Regions from separate parts of the Homo sapiens genome. Here regions 1 and 3 are each linked to region 2. Evidence: promoter capture Hi-C in human tissues and cell types (Jung and others, 2019). All regions are on one chromosome and are shown on one strand. The core of a region is centred on a gene start or on the middle of the fragment in contact, and the rest is flanking DNA. Distances in the headings are between cores, read along the strand shown. Region 1 overlaps RNF214 (ring finger protein 214). Region 2 holds the start of FXYD2 (FXYD domain containing ion transport regulator 2). Region 3 holds the start of UBE4A (ubiquitination factor E4A).

What was found. The method cuts DNA at HindIII sites, captures the fragments that hold promoters and counts their contacts. A contact is called where the count stands out against the background at its distance.
Region 1: a contact is called between a fragment that was not itself captured here and the fragment with the promoter of FXYD2 in region 2, in 1 of the 25 tissues and cell types used here (dorsolateral prefrontal cortex).
Region 3: a contact is called between the fragment with the promoter of UBE4A here and the fragment with the promoter of FXYD2 in region 2, in 1 of the 25 tissues and cell types used here (psoas muscle).

Annotation. Positions count from the first base shown.
Region 1 is chr11:117,245,021-117,249,313 of GRCh38, forward strand. It overlaps RNF214 (ring finger protein 214), which reads left to right. Exons shown (of 15, transcript NM_207343.4): 6 at 1,789-1,928. Among named protein-coding and RNA genes, the nearest start is that of RNF214, 14 kb to the left of the region's middle. The HindIII fragment of the contact is 8,572 bases long and covers 1-4,293 here.
Region 2 is chr11:117,822,325-117,826,678 of GRCh38, forward strand. FXYD2 (FXYD domain containing ion transport regulator 2) reads right to left here and starts at 2,420. Exons shown (of 6, transcript NM_001680.5): 1 at 2,330-2,420; 2 at 355-393; 3 at 82-156. The coding sequence starts at 2,354. It overlaps FXYD6-FXYD2 (FXYD6-FXYD2 readthrough), which reads right to left. Exons shown (of 10, transcript NM_001243598.4): 7 at 355-393. RefSeq lists enhancers at 1-497, 2,160-2,713, 2,714-3,266. The HindIII fragment of the contact is 16,763 bases long and covers 66-4,354 here.
Region 3 is chr11:118,357,742-118,361,765 of GRCh38, forward strand. It overlaps UBE4A (ubiquitination factor E4A), which reads left to right and starts at 1,859. Exons shown (of 20, transcript NM_001204077.2): 1 at 1,859-1,933. RefSeq lists an enhancer at 1,796-1,865. The HindIII fragment of the contact is 8,022 bases long and covers 1-4,024 here.

The sequences.
Region 1 (4,293 bases), core at 963-3,462, 580 kb before region 2:
TGAAATAAAAAGGCAAGGCGGGGTGTGGTGGCTCACACCTGTAATCCCAACACTTTGAGAGGTTGAGGCGGGTGGATCAGTTGGGTCCAGGAGTTCGAACCAGCCTGGGCAACATGGCAAAATCCCATCTTTACCAAAAATACAAAAAATGAGCCGGGCGTGGTGGTGTGCACCTGTGGTCCCAGCTACATGGGAGGCTGAGGTGGGAGGATCGCTTAAACCCAGGAGGCAGAGGTTGCAGTGAGCCGAAATTGTGCCACTGCACTCCAGCCTGAGTGACAGAACGATACCCTGTCTCAAAAAAAGTATTAATACTCATAGACTTTTTTTTTTTTTTGAGACGGAGTCTCGCTCTGTCACCCAGGCTGGAGTGCAATGGCACAATCTCGGCTCACTGCAAGCTCCGCCTCCTGGATTCACGCCATTCTCCTGCCTCAGCCTCCCAAGTAGCTGGGACTACAGGCGCCCGCCACTACGCCCGGCTAATTTTTTGTATTTTTTTTAATAGAGACGGGGTTTCACCATGTTAGCCAGGATGGTCTCGATCTCCTGACCTCATGATCCACCTGCCTCGGCCCCCCAAAGTGCTGGGATTACAGGCGTGAGCCACTGCGCCAGACCACTCATAGACTTTTAATAAAGAATGTTCGGATAAATTAGATACATCCATATGTTATGCAGCTATTTTTGAATTAGATCGATACTTATTGACAATACATTCATGTCAAGTAAAAGAAATCAGAATGCAAAATAATGTATGTAAAATGACCCCATTTAAAAATAACAACAACAACAACAACAAAGAAATGCATACCTAAGTATACATGTCTTTGTGTGAGCATAGAGAAAGATGTGAAAGCATAATACAAAGCAGTTAACACATTGATTACTCTTATGGGTGGAAGTGGTATGAAGTGGGGGAGTGACTCTTTATCACCTTTGTATTATTTTACTTTTTTTTTGATACTGGATCTTGTTTTGTTGCCCAGACTGGAGTGTAGTGGGTACAATCAAGGCTCACCGTATCTTTGACTTTCTGGGCTCGAGCTATCCTTCCACCTCAGCCTCTCGAGTATCTGGACTACAGGCATGTGCCACCACACCTGGCTAATTTTTTTTATTTTTTGTGAGACAAGATCTCTGTATGTTGCCTAGGCTGGACTCGAACTCCCGGACACAGTGATCCTCCTGCCTTGGGTTCCCAAAGTACAAGGATTATAGGCATGAGCTACTGTGCCTGGCCTGTTTGACTTCTTATTTAAAAAAAAAAAAAAGTGTGCGTTTGTACATATGTATATCTGTGTGTATATGTGTGTGTGTATATATGTATGTATTTGTTGTTGTTAAAGAGTAAAACAAACAAAACCCATACATAATAAAGTAGAATCACAACAAAATGAAACAAGACAATATTTGTTGGATGTAACAGACCCTCCCTGGTACAAGAACACCTTTCTCAGCATTCTTGACAGGTGTTCATTCAGCCTTTATTTGAACACCAGTAATGAAGAGCTTACTGCTTCACAAGGCAGTATATTTCATTTTTGAACAATTGCGATTGCTAGAAATTATTTTTCCTGTTGAGTTGAAATCTGCATTACTATAACTTTCTCCTTTAGGTCTGAATACTGGCTTTTGGAGCTACTCATCAACCACATTCTTTCAATTCAATTTGAATTCACTAAAGTCAATACGTGAATTTGTGATAGTTGAAAATAACCTTTGCATCAAAAGAACTAACTTATTTTCTTTTTTATTTGTGTGCGACTGTAATTGTGTGGAACTCAGGAGATATTAAAGGCTATTCAGGATGTGACAATAAAGCGGGAAGAAACAAAGAAGAAGATAGAGAAAGAGAAGAAGGAGTTTTTGCAGAAGGAGCAGGATCTGAAAGCTGAAATTGAGAAGCTTTGTGAGAAGGGCAGAAGGTAACTGATGTTAAGAATAAAAACCCTGTGTGTATGTATATATGCATGAGGGGCCAGACCCGTTTGTATTTGTAGTTTCTTTCCCTTCGGTTTAATTTTTATTTGAAAAACAAGTGTACAAGTAAAAACTCTCCAATGACTTTAGCTTTTTCAGTATCAAACATTAGACTTAATAGAAAAAAGTTCAGAGATTTATTAAATACTTTGAAATAATAACAGTTAATTGTTGAGTCCCAAGTGTGGTCAAGAGTTCGATACGGGCTGGACGTAGCGGCTCACACCTATAATCCCAGCGCTTTGGGACACCAAGGTGGGAAGATTGCTTGAGGCCAGGAGTTTGAGACCAGCCTGAGCAACCTAGCAAGACCCCCTCTCTACAAAAAATATTAAAAAAAAATTAGCTGGTTGTGGTGGCACGTGGCTGTAGTCCTAGCTACTTGGGAGGCTGAGGTGGAAGAATCACTTGAGCCCAGGAGTTCCAGGCTGCAGTCAGCTGTGATTACGCCACTGCACTCCAGCTTGGGTGACAGAGCAAGACCTTGTCTCTTAAAAAAAAATTTTTTTTATATGAATCTAACACCGATCTCACTTTATAACCTGATATTTACAAGTTCAGACCATGGGACAGGCACAGTGGCTCACGCCTGTAATCCCAGCACCTTGGGAGGCCGAGGCAGGTGGATCACGAGGTCAGGAGATCGAGACCATCCTGGCCAATATGGTGAAACCCCATCTCTACTAAAATACACAAAATTAGCCAGGCGTGGCGGCGTGCACCTGTAGTCTCAGCTACTCGGGAAGCTGAGGCAGGGGAATCGCTTGAATCCAGGAGGCAGGAGGCGGAGGTTGCAGTGAGCTGAGATCGTGCCACTGGACTTCAGCCTGGCAACAGAGTGAGACCCTGTCTCAAAAAAAAAAAAAAACAAAACAAAAAAAAACAAAGTTCAGACCATGAGCATATTTTGAATGATTACATTTGTGTTATTCAGCATCCAAAGTAAATTTCAAACAGTAACATTGTAAGCTGTTTGTGAAAGAATTATTTAGAGGATTTGTGTCCTTTTCTGGGTACTGCAGAAAAAGCAAAGTGGGCATAGAATTTGGTCAGCTTCTCAATTTTCTAAGTTTCTTTTTTTTCTTTTTTTGAGACGGAGTCTTGCTCTGTTCCCCAGGCTGGAGTGCAGTGGCACGATCTCAGCTCACTGCAAGCTCCACCTCCCGGGTTCACGCCATTCTCCTGCCTCAGCCTCCTGAGTAGCTGGGACTACAGGCGCCCGCCACCATGCCTGGCTAACATTTTTGTATTTTTAGGAGAGACGGGGTTTCACCGTGTTAGCCAGGATGGTCTCGATCTCCTGACCTCATGATCCGCCTGCCTCGGCCTCCCAAAGTGCTGGGATTACAGGCATGAGCCACCGCGCCCAGCCAATTTTCTAAGTTTCTTAAAATGACCTGTTTGGAAATCATAATAGCTGTGAATACTCGGTTGATTTTATTTAAATTCTACCAAAATGTTTTTTGTTTATCAAAAAAATTTTGGCTTTTGCTAATGCGTCAGACTGCTGAGTTAGCAAGCTCATGTGCTGAATCATTTTCTGAGTCTCCAAGATAATAATTGTGAAGCTCAACATGAGGAATTGTGTTTGAGAGAGGGCTTGTAGACCAATCAGTTGTTCTGTTGAGAATCTAGTGATACTGAATGATTAGAAGGTGGGTCAGTTGTCTATAATGATAATTTTCCAGAAATTATGAGGAGTGTACCTGGAATAGAACATTATCCCAGCCACTGTTAGTGATCAAAGCAGTTGCTCCCACCCCATGACATGGTCTCTGCCATTGTCTTCACAATCTGTGTGAGGAAGATGACCATAGGCATGTAGCAACTTAACAGGAGATATTAAAGTGCAGAAACTGGGAAGATGAGTCTATAATGTTATTCTAAGCCCCGCAGAAAATTTCCTTTTGATGTGTGTTCTTTACATTCTTTTTTTTTTTGAGACAGTCTTGCTCTGTTGCCCAGGCTGGAGTGCAGTGGCGCAATCTCGGCTCATGCAAGCTCCACCTCCCGGGTTCAAGTGATTCTTTTGCCTCAGTCACCTGAGTATCTGGGATTACAGGCGAGTGCCATCATGCCCAGATAATTTTTTAAATTTTTTTATAGAGATGAGAATCTCACTCGTTGACCAGGCTAATCTCAAACTTCTGGCTTCAAGCGATCCACCTGCCTTGGCCTCCCAAAGTGCTGGGATTACAGGTGTGAGCTACCGTGCCCAGCCTTTTTTTAATTTTTAATTTTTATTGTTTTTTACCTTCAACAAACTCACTTTTACTCTTTACATTCTTTATGTAACTCTACTACCTTTTC
Region 2 (4,354 bases), core at 1,170-3,669:
CCCGAAAGCCAGCCTGCTCAGCGGCCTTGAGAAGAGAGGTGCCCTGGTCAGCACCCCTTCCCTGGAGGCCACCCCACTTACTGAGGAGGATGAGGAGCCCCACGATGAAGGCCAGTCCAGCGAAGATCAGGCCCCCATTGCGAACGGTCTCATAGTCTCCGGAAAGAGAGGGCAAGAGGAGCGGGATGGGTGGTCTCTCCCAGCAGCTGTCTCTCTCCGCAGCCTGCCCGCAGCAGCCCGTGGTAACCAGGGGAGATAAGGGGCACAGAGCATGGACCTGGGGCTGGGAGAGGCCGCTGCTTGGTGGAAGGGGTCCTGAGGGCTCAGGAAGGGTGCGCAGGGGCCCAGGCTTACCATAGTAGAACGGGTCCACGTCCCCCTTGGGGCTGCCGCCTAGGAGAGAGCCAGAGGTGGGATGAGAGGAGTCACCGATGGTGAGCCAGCCACAGGAACAGCTGGAATTCCCTGTCCTTCCCTTCCCAGAGGACCCTCGAGGGTCCAAGCAGGCGAGGGGAGGCTGGGAGCAGGGGTGTTGCTAAAACCATTGCCAGCAGGCTTCTGCTCCAGGCGGCTTCAGACACGCTCAACTGGGGACCAAATACCGAGTGTCCGAGGGGGATCCGTGCTGTCTGGGGGGCCTCTGACCACTCCGGAAGGGTGGCTCTCTCCTGCTCCTTGATTCCTACCATGGTAGAAAAGGCCAGGAGAAGCCTCTCCCATTAGACTCCCAGCGGCCTCTCTCCACAGGACCATTTGGCTATCAGGTGCTTAGCAGCTATTTGGGAAATGCATGAATAAATAAAACAGAACCTTAAAGTTTATCAGACAGAAGGAGGAAGCCGAGCCCAATGTGTAGACTTGTTCAAAGTCCTAATGAAAGCTGAGACAGACCTCCTTTCCTGCGTTACCATCCTCAGGGGAAGCAGATCTAGTTAAGAAACATTAATATATAGTGCTGGTCAGGCACCGGGCAAAAACTAACAAACCCTAACTCATCTAACCATTATGGCAACCTTATGAGGCGTCAATGTCATTCTGGTGTAATCCACAAGAGGGTGGAAGTGCAGAGAAGAAATTCCCCCACAGTTATACAGCAAGTCAGGGGTAGAGCTGGTGTTTGAACCCAGGAAGCAGGGGGCTGAGAATGGAGGTGCATAAGCCCTTTGATCTGCCACCTCTCAATGGCGGGAGGGAAGGAGCCCGTTAGAGGTAAGGTCCTGCCCCTGCCTCTGGTGGCCTCCCCCGGATTTGGAGCCGCTCAGCAGGCAGGTCTCACAGTGGTGCCCTGCAACTGAGTACACTTGCCCCGGACAGCCAGACGGTGGCCTGGCCAGGACGCTTCTGCCACAGCTAAGGGCCGCTACTCTTTCCTGCCCTGCCGGAGCCCCTTCTCGCACGAGGGAAGTGGAGCCCGAGGAGGAAGGAACGCGCAAGTTAGCACTTTCCGGGCTGTGCCAAACTGTGCCCCTGAGCAGCAGTGAGACTTAGGGTCTGTCAAGCCCAGCTGTCCCCAGCGGCCAGTCCCTGGGCCAGGAAAGGACAGGCCAGGAAGAGTCAGTGCCCATCCTGACGGGCCTGAGGTGCTGGGTGCTCAGGGAGGCCATGAAGGACCCAGGTCCCACACAGAAGGCCGTCAGGGCTGTCTTCCCAGATTTGGTTCAGGCCTTGTTTAAGGTCATATGGGGATTTAAGTGTCAGAGCAACAGCTAGACGCCAGCTGAGGCTTCCCCACACGCCCCAGGAAACCTCCTCCTCCGTGGCCACCTGGCCCTGAGCCGCTTGCTGAGACCCTCCCTGCCCAGCACCCTCCCCTTTCTGCATCTGGCTCAAAACCCACCTCTGTCAGCAAGTGCCCCTCTTGGTTTCCAGGCCTGAGTCAGTTCCTGTGACAGGAAGCCTTTGGAGAGTGTGACTTGAACTTGGCGGGCTCTCACCCCAAATCCAGCCTAGGAAGGCTGACCAGAGGGGCCTGCTCCTTCCCCAGCCAGATGGACGCCGTCTGCCTCCCGCCCAAGTTCAGACGGTCTAGCAAGATGCATTGAACTCAGGGCGGGTGTGTGCCAGGAGGCCGAGGAGGAACGCTCAGCTCTCCAGCTTCTATCTGCTGCCTTTCTGCCACTCAAGCTATCTTTCTTTGGGGTTAAAGCAGGGTCCTCCTTTAAGTTGCAAATTTTCTTAGAGAGGAGGCCGACAGGAAGAGGGGCTGGGTACTCTGGAAGGCTGAGGTGGCAGGAGAGGGAAGAGTAGGGTCCAGCTGACCCCACAAAGGCAGGCCAATCAGAGCCACCCAGCATTGCACACGCCCGGGCACGCACACCAGCACACTCACCACCGTCCATCGACAACCCAGTCATTTCCCCAGGTGAATGGGCTGCCTCCACTCCCCTCTTCCTGCTGTCTCTGCTTTTTGGAGAGTGTCTGGCTGCCTCCACGGGGTGGCCGGGGACGAGGTGCGGGCATTAAACATTAACAGTGCCAGGTAATATTTACCCTGGTCACAAGAAAAGCTGCAGTGTGGATGGAGGGGCTCCTTCTGCAGGGTGAGGACGTGCGTGGGGAGGCAGGGGCAGGGAGGAGCTGGCTGAGTTTCCAAACCTTCCCAAAGGAAATTTCCAAAGAGAAGGGTTGGGATGGGTCAGCAGTCGTGCTGTTCTGCCAGCTGGGGAAGCTACAGCTGGGGCGGTGGGAACAGGAAAGTGGAAGTTGCACAATCTCTTCAGTGTACACTGTACTTGGGAGTTTCTGGGGGCAGTGGCCCACAGTGGCCCCCAGCCCAGGCAGGGCCCACCGCACCAGCCACCATGGATGCCGCCGCTGCAGCTGGTGTTCCTTATGTGGTACTGGAGGCTTTCCTGCAGTGGTCCCTAGGAGCCTGGCCCACTGCTCCCCCACCACATCCCTGGAGCACCGCCAAAGCTGACCAGCAGTAGATCCTCCAGAAGGGCCCTTCATCTGTCATCCTATTCACCCATCAACGTGCACCCTGCAGGTTACACCTCATTCAGAAGGGCTTCAGTCATCCCCAACTAATTTCTCCTTCCCTGCCGCCCTGGCACTTCCTCCTACCACCATTTGGCCTGGCTCTCGGATTGTGTCCTTGCCAGTTTACCATGGAGCATGCAGGATCCTTAAGGACAGGGCAAGACTTTCATCGTGGGGAAAACCCCCTGCGTTTATGGTTTACCAAGCACTTTCCTCACTGTTTTTTCTCCTCAAGCTTTATGTTTCCCATTTTACTGATGAGGCAGGTGTCTAAGGCACAGAGAGGTAGGGGCCTTGCCCAGGGTCACACAGCCAGTGTGGGGGAAGTGGAGACTGACAATCAGGCCTCCTGCTGCAGGAGGCAGATGCTTTCCACACCTCGCAGGCAGCCTCCCCACTCCGCTGTGACCTCCTTCGCCCCAGGACTCCTGTGCCGGGTAGTCACAGGTACTGTAGAATCCTCGTTGAGTTCTAGTCCATTGAATTGGCCTCCAGAAAAGGCTGAAGCCCAATGGCCACAAAACAGCCAAGGTCAGTGGCCAGCGGACAGCAGGGGAGCTTGAGCCCTTCTGAAGGGAGCCACTGTATCCATGAATCCTCCCCAAGCAGGGGCAGGGCTTGGCACTTGAGTTCACACCCTGGCCCTCTCACTTGCTAATGGTGTGGTCTCAGTCAATGACTTCACCTCTCTGTGCCTCAGTCTCCTCATCTGTAAAATGGGCGCAGTACCCAGCTCCTAGGGTGGTGGTGAGGGGAAGTGAGATAATGCATGCAAAGAGCATATCCCAGGGCCTGGCACACGGTGAGTGGCATCATTTTTACTGTTATATGTGTGTTGATTGAAGAAATGACAAGCATTAGCCTTTGGCAAATGTTTGCTGTTGGACATGGAAAAGCCAGCCACCCTCCAATGAAAATGGGCACGAATGAGTGAGACGGAGAGAATGGCATGGCCCTGCAGATCAGGCGCTGCAATACCCGTTCAGCTCCCTTCTGCTTCTGGAGCCAAGAAATATATATTCGTGCAAACATCACAGCAGAGCCAGCGTTTGGTGAAGATGGACCACGTGCCAGGCTCTTGGAATGCACTGCATCACTTAATTCCTACTAATGGCGTTTTACAGATAAAGAAACTTGAGGCTGCTCATTTGCTTTCCACAATAGCCCCTGGACGTGGCCAGGGCACTGGGTACACCAGAAAAAACGAGGGCAGGAAGGTGAAGGGACTTGCCTGAAACACACAGTTAATGGCAAACTGGAGGTAGAAAGCCCAGATCCTCCAAGATGTGCTACCAAAGCTACTGCCATCTCCACACAAGACAAGGGTGCTCCCTTTATTATACAGGATTGTGTTATCTTATTGCATTTGGTC
Region 3 (4,024 bases), core at 609-3,108, 530 kb after region 2:
TCCTAAACAGAAACTTGGTACCCATTAGACAATAACTCCCATTCGCCTCTCCCTCCAATCCCTGGTGACCTCTATTATACTTTCTCTCTCAAGGAATGTGCCTATTCTGTGTACCACATATAAACTGAATCATACACTATTTAGTCCTTTCTGTCTGGCTCGTTTCAGTTAGCATAACGTTTTCAAGGTTCATCAATGTTTCAGCGTGTATCAGAACTTCATTCTTTTTCAAGGCTGAATAAGTCATCTGTAGCTATATACCATATTTTGTTTATGCATTCATCTGTTAATGAACATTCTGGGTTATTTCTACCTTTTGGTTATTATGAATAGTGCTACTGTAAATATATGTATACAAGTATCTGAGTTCCTGCTTTCAGTTATTTTGAACATCTATATCAAAGCGGAATTGCTTGATCATGTGGTTATACTATGTTTAACTTTTTGAGGAATCATCAAACTGTTTTTCCAAAAAGTCTGGACTATTTAACATTGCCATCAGCAACGCATACGGTTTCAATTTCTCCACATCTGCCAACAATTACTTTCCTTTTTTTTTATAGTAGCCATCCTAGTAGGTATTAAGTGGTATCTCATGATTTTTTTTTTCATTTCCCTAAAGACTAGTGGTGTTGAGCACTCTTTCATATGCTTATCCACCATTTGTACAGTTGGCCTTCCATATCTGTGGGCTCTGCATCTGTGGCTTCAACCAACCATGAATTGGAAATATTCCAAAACAAATTTCATCTGTATTGAACATGTACAGACTTTTTGTCATTATTCCCTAAACAATACAACACTATTTAGATTTATGTTGTATTAGGTATTATAAGTGATCTAGAGATGACTTAGTCATCTCTAGGATGACACAGGAGGATGTGCATAGGTTATATGCAAATACTGCATCATTTTATGTAAGGAACTTGAGCATCCTTGGATTTTGGTACCCAAGGGGGTCCTGAAACAAATCCCCCACAGATACCAAGTGGATAGTCATTCTCTTGGAATGTATCTTCTTTGGAGAAATGTCTATTCAAGTCCTTTGCCCTTTTTTGAACTGAACTGTTTGGGGGTTTTTCGTTCTTGTAGTTCTTTACATATTCTAGAGATGAATCCTTTATCAGATATATGAGTTGCAACTATTTTCTCTCAATCTGTGAATTTTCACTTGCACAGCGCTTTTAACTCTTGAAAATTATGCTGCTTCTATTATTTATGTGTATCCCGATCTCTTGCCCTCGTGACCCGCCCGTCTCAGCCTCCCAAAGTGCTGGGACTACAAGGCGTGAGCCACTGTGCCTGGCCATCTATGTGTATCTCAAAACAACCTTGTAGGATGTATACTGTCTCCACTTTACAGATAAGAAAACTGAAATCCAATCAAAGATAGCACACTCCAAAGATTGCTCCAAAGACAGCACAACAATAACAAACTTGTAGTTGTTATTGCTGTTAGTGTTATCCCTTTGAATAATAGAGAGTAACAGAAGCTGCTTCAAAAAGGTCTAGGACTGGTGGGAAAATAAGAGAGCAGACCCCCAACAGAGGTTGCGAGCAGAGCCAGGGATCACAGAGTTTTATCTGCCCTCGGTACGCTGATTTCCAAAACCCAGCCTCATATTCTATACTCCAAAGCGCACTGCCAGGTGGGCCAACTCCAGCCCCCACAATCCGATGCCAAGGCCACTTCTTGCCACTTCCTGCCCGCCTCCAGCCCGCCCCTAACAAGCTAGCGCATGCGCTGTAGGACTATTTGCGCGCCGTTCCCCCCGGTGAGCCTGCACACCGTGCTTCCGGCGCGGAGATGAACTTCCACATGCCCCGGCGCTTGTTGATGACGTAACTTCCGGTTGCTGTGCTGAGTCGGAAGTGGGAACCCTTCGGCCGCTGAGATTCTGTCGTGTCGTCGCTGCTGGCACTTCAGGCTCTGGTAAGACAGGCAATAGCTTCAGGGGACGGGGTCGTTGACTTTGCGTTGTGATATTTTCTGCTGGTCCAATGCCACTTCAAGCCTGTTCACTCTTATCTTCTCCAAATTCCTTCTCCTATGCTTTGCTAACCAGGGACCTTCTCCTTCTTGAACTTCGACCCTGTCTGATTTGGAACCCCTTACAGTGCCCCAGCTTCTGATGTCTCTTTGTACATTTCTGTCCCCATCTTTGCCAAGCCCCTCCTGGAAGAGGCCGGAGCGCTATCATTGCATTATCTTTTGACTTAACTTTCTCTAGAACGTGCCCCGGGCGGGTGGATCTCCCTCCTTCCCGCGAATCCCTTATGGAGCATGGAAGGATAAAATATAAAGAGTAGATAACAAATAGGCAGATGCCAAGAAGATAAGATTAATCGTGAGTCGTAAGCAAACCAGTTCAATGCATACGTCAGGGTGTTGATAATTCTTAAGGCAGGTGATGAGTTCACCACAGATAACTCTTGGGGCACTCTGCTTCATGTTTCCTTGGGTTTAGAAGACACTTCTAAAATTGAGTGACCATGCCTCATGACCTTATATTTGATGAGCCTTCCTTTTAGGATCAGTTTTATGCCCTGACAGCAAGCATGTGTTTAGTCTCGCTGTCATTTACTGTTTTGGTCTCACGTGGAAGCCCACCTGCGATAAAATGGGATCCAAGAAGGACTGCTGTCTGCTTTTTGACTTGAGATCCTTCTAGGCTGCAGATAGATGTGTTGATGGAATTTGTTGCCACATTAGCATGGCCTGATAGTGTTAGGTGAAACATACGACAACGAAAATTGTTTCTTAATTTCTATTTTAAATTGATATTTTAATTTCTATTTTATATTGATATATGTATTATTTGCCAGGACACAGACCTTATGGGAGTATGATTTGATAGAGCTTGATTTTGACGATCCCAGTTTTACAAAGTGTTCCAGATATTTCTGTTGAAAAACAATACCAAGTCTGATGTTAACACACTTGTGTGTTCATGAGAGCTGACAGTGGTCTTAAAGGATTAGTGGTACTATTCATAAACAAAAGCTTGTATTAGGAGGAAGTGACAGAATTTTGTAGGACAGCTATTATAGATATAGATCTTTGCAGCAAGTGTATCAGAGTGAAACTTGTTTTCAAGGAGGATATATTTTAAAAGAATCAAATCCAAAAGCTTCTAAGGTTGGTAGCTGTACCATCCCAAAGTGTCTGACAACAGGATAGTGTTGTATCTCTGTATGGCAGTTGAAAATAGGAAAAAAAATACATACATATATGTATGTATATATGTGTGTGTGTGTGTGTGTGTATTTTTTTTTTTTTTTTTTTGAGACAGAGTCTGGCTCTGTCACCCAGGCTCTGCTCTGGAGTGCAGTGGCACGATCTCAGCTCACGGCAACCTCCATCTCCCAGTTTAAAAGTGATTCTCCTGCCTCAGCCTCCCAAGTAGTGGGATTACAGCCTGGCTAAGGTGTGGTGGTATGCGCCTGTAATCGCTTTTAGTGGAGACGGGGTTTCACCACATTGGCCAGGCTGGTCTCAAACTCCTGACTTCAAGTGATCTGTCTGCCTTGGCCTCCCAAAGTGCTGGGATTACAGGCATGACCTACTGCGCCCGGCGCTGAAAATAGGAGATTATAAATCCCGAATGACATTATTGAATATTAAACAAAATATTTAGGTTTCATTTTATCGGACCTTTAGAGTGGGTGATTATCTGGGTACTCTTACTTTGGTAAGTCCATTGAACAAATCTAAACTGGCATCTCCACAAAGGTTCTCATCAAGTGATCAGTCCTCCTTTTTCCTGTAAAATTTTTCTATAAGTGACTACACAGTTTTAGCCCTTTTTTAATGAAAAAAAGTTTGTGCACAGATTTGACATACGTGTGAAAAAGATGAGCTTAGTGAAAGATAGGTGAGAACCTTTTTGTTTTTTACAGATAGTAGAGATGACAACAGAGACTTATTTCCATCCACCATTCTACACATGCCAAGATACCAAAGAACCAGTGTCTAGCCTGGTAGCTTGACCTTCCACTGCAACCTAAGACAAGTAGTAAAGCC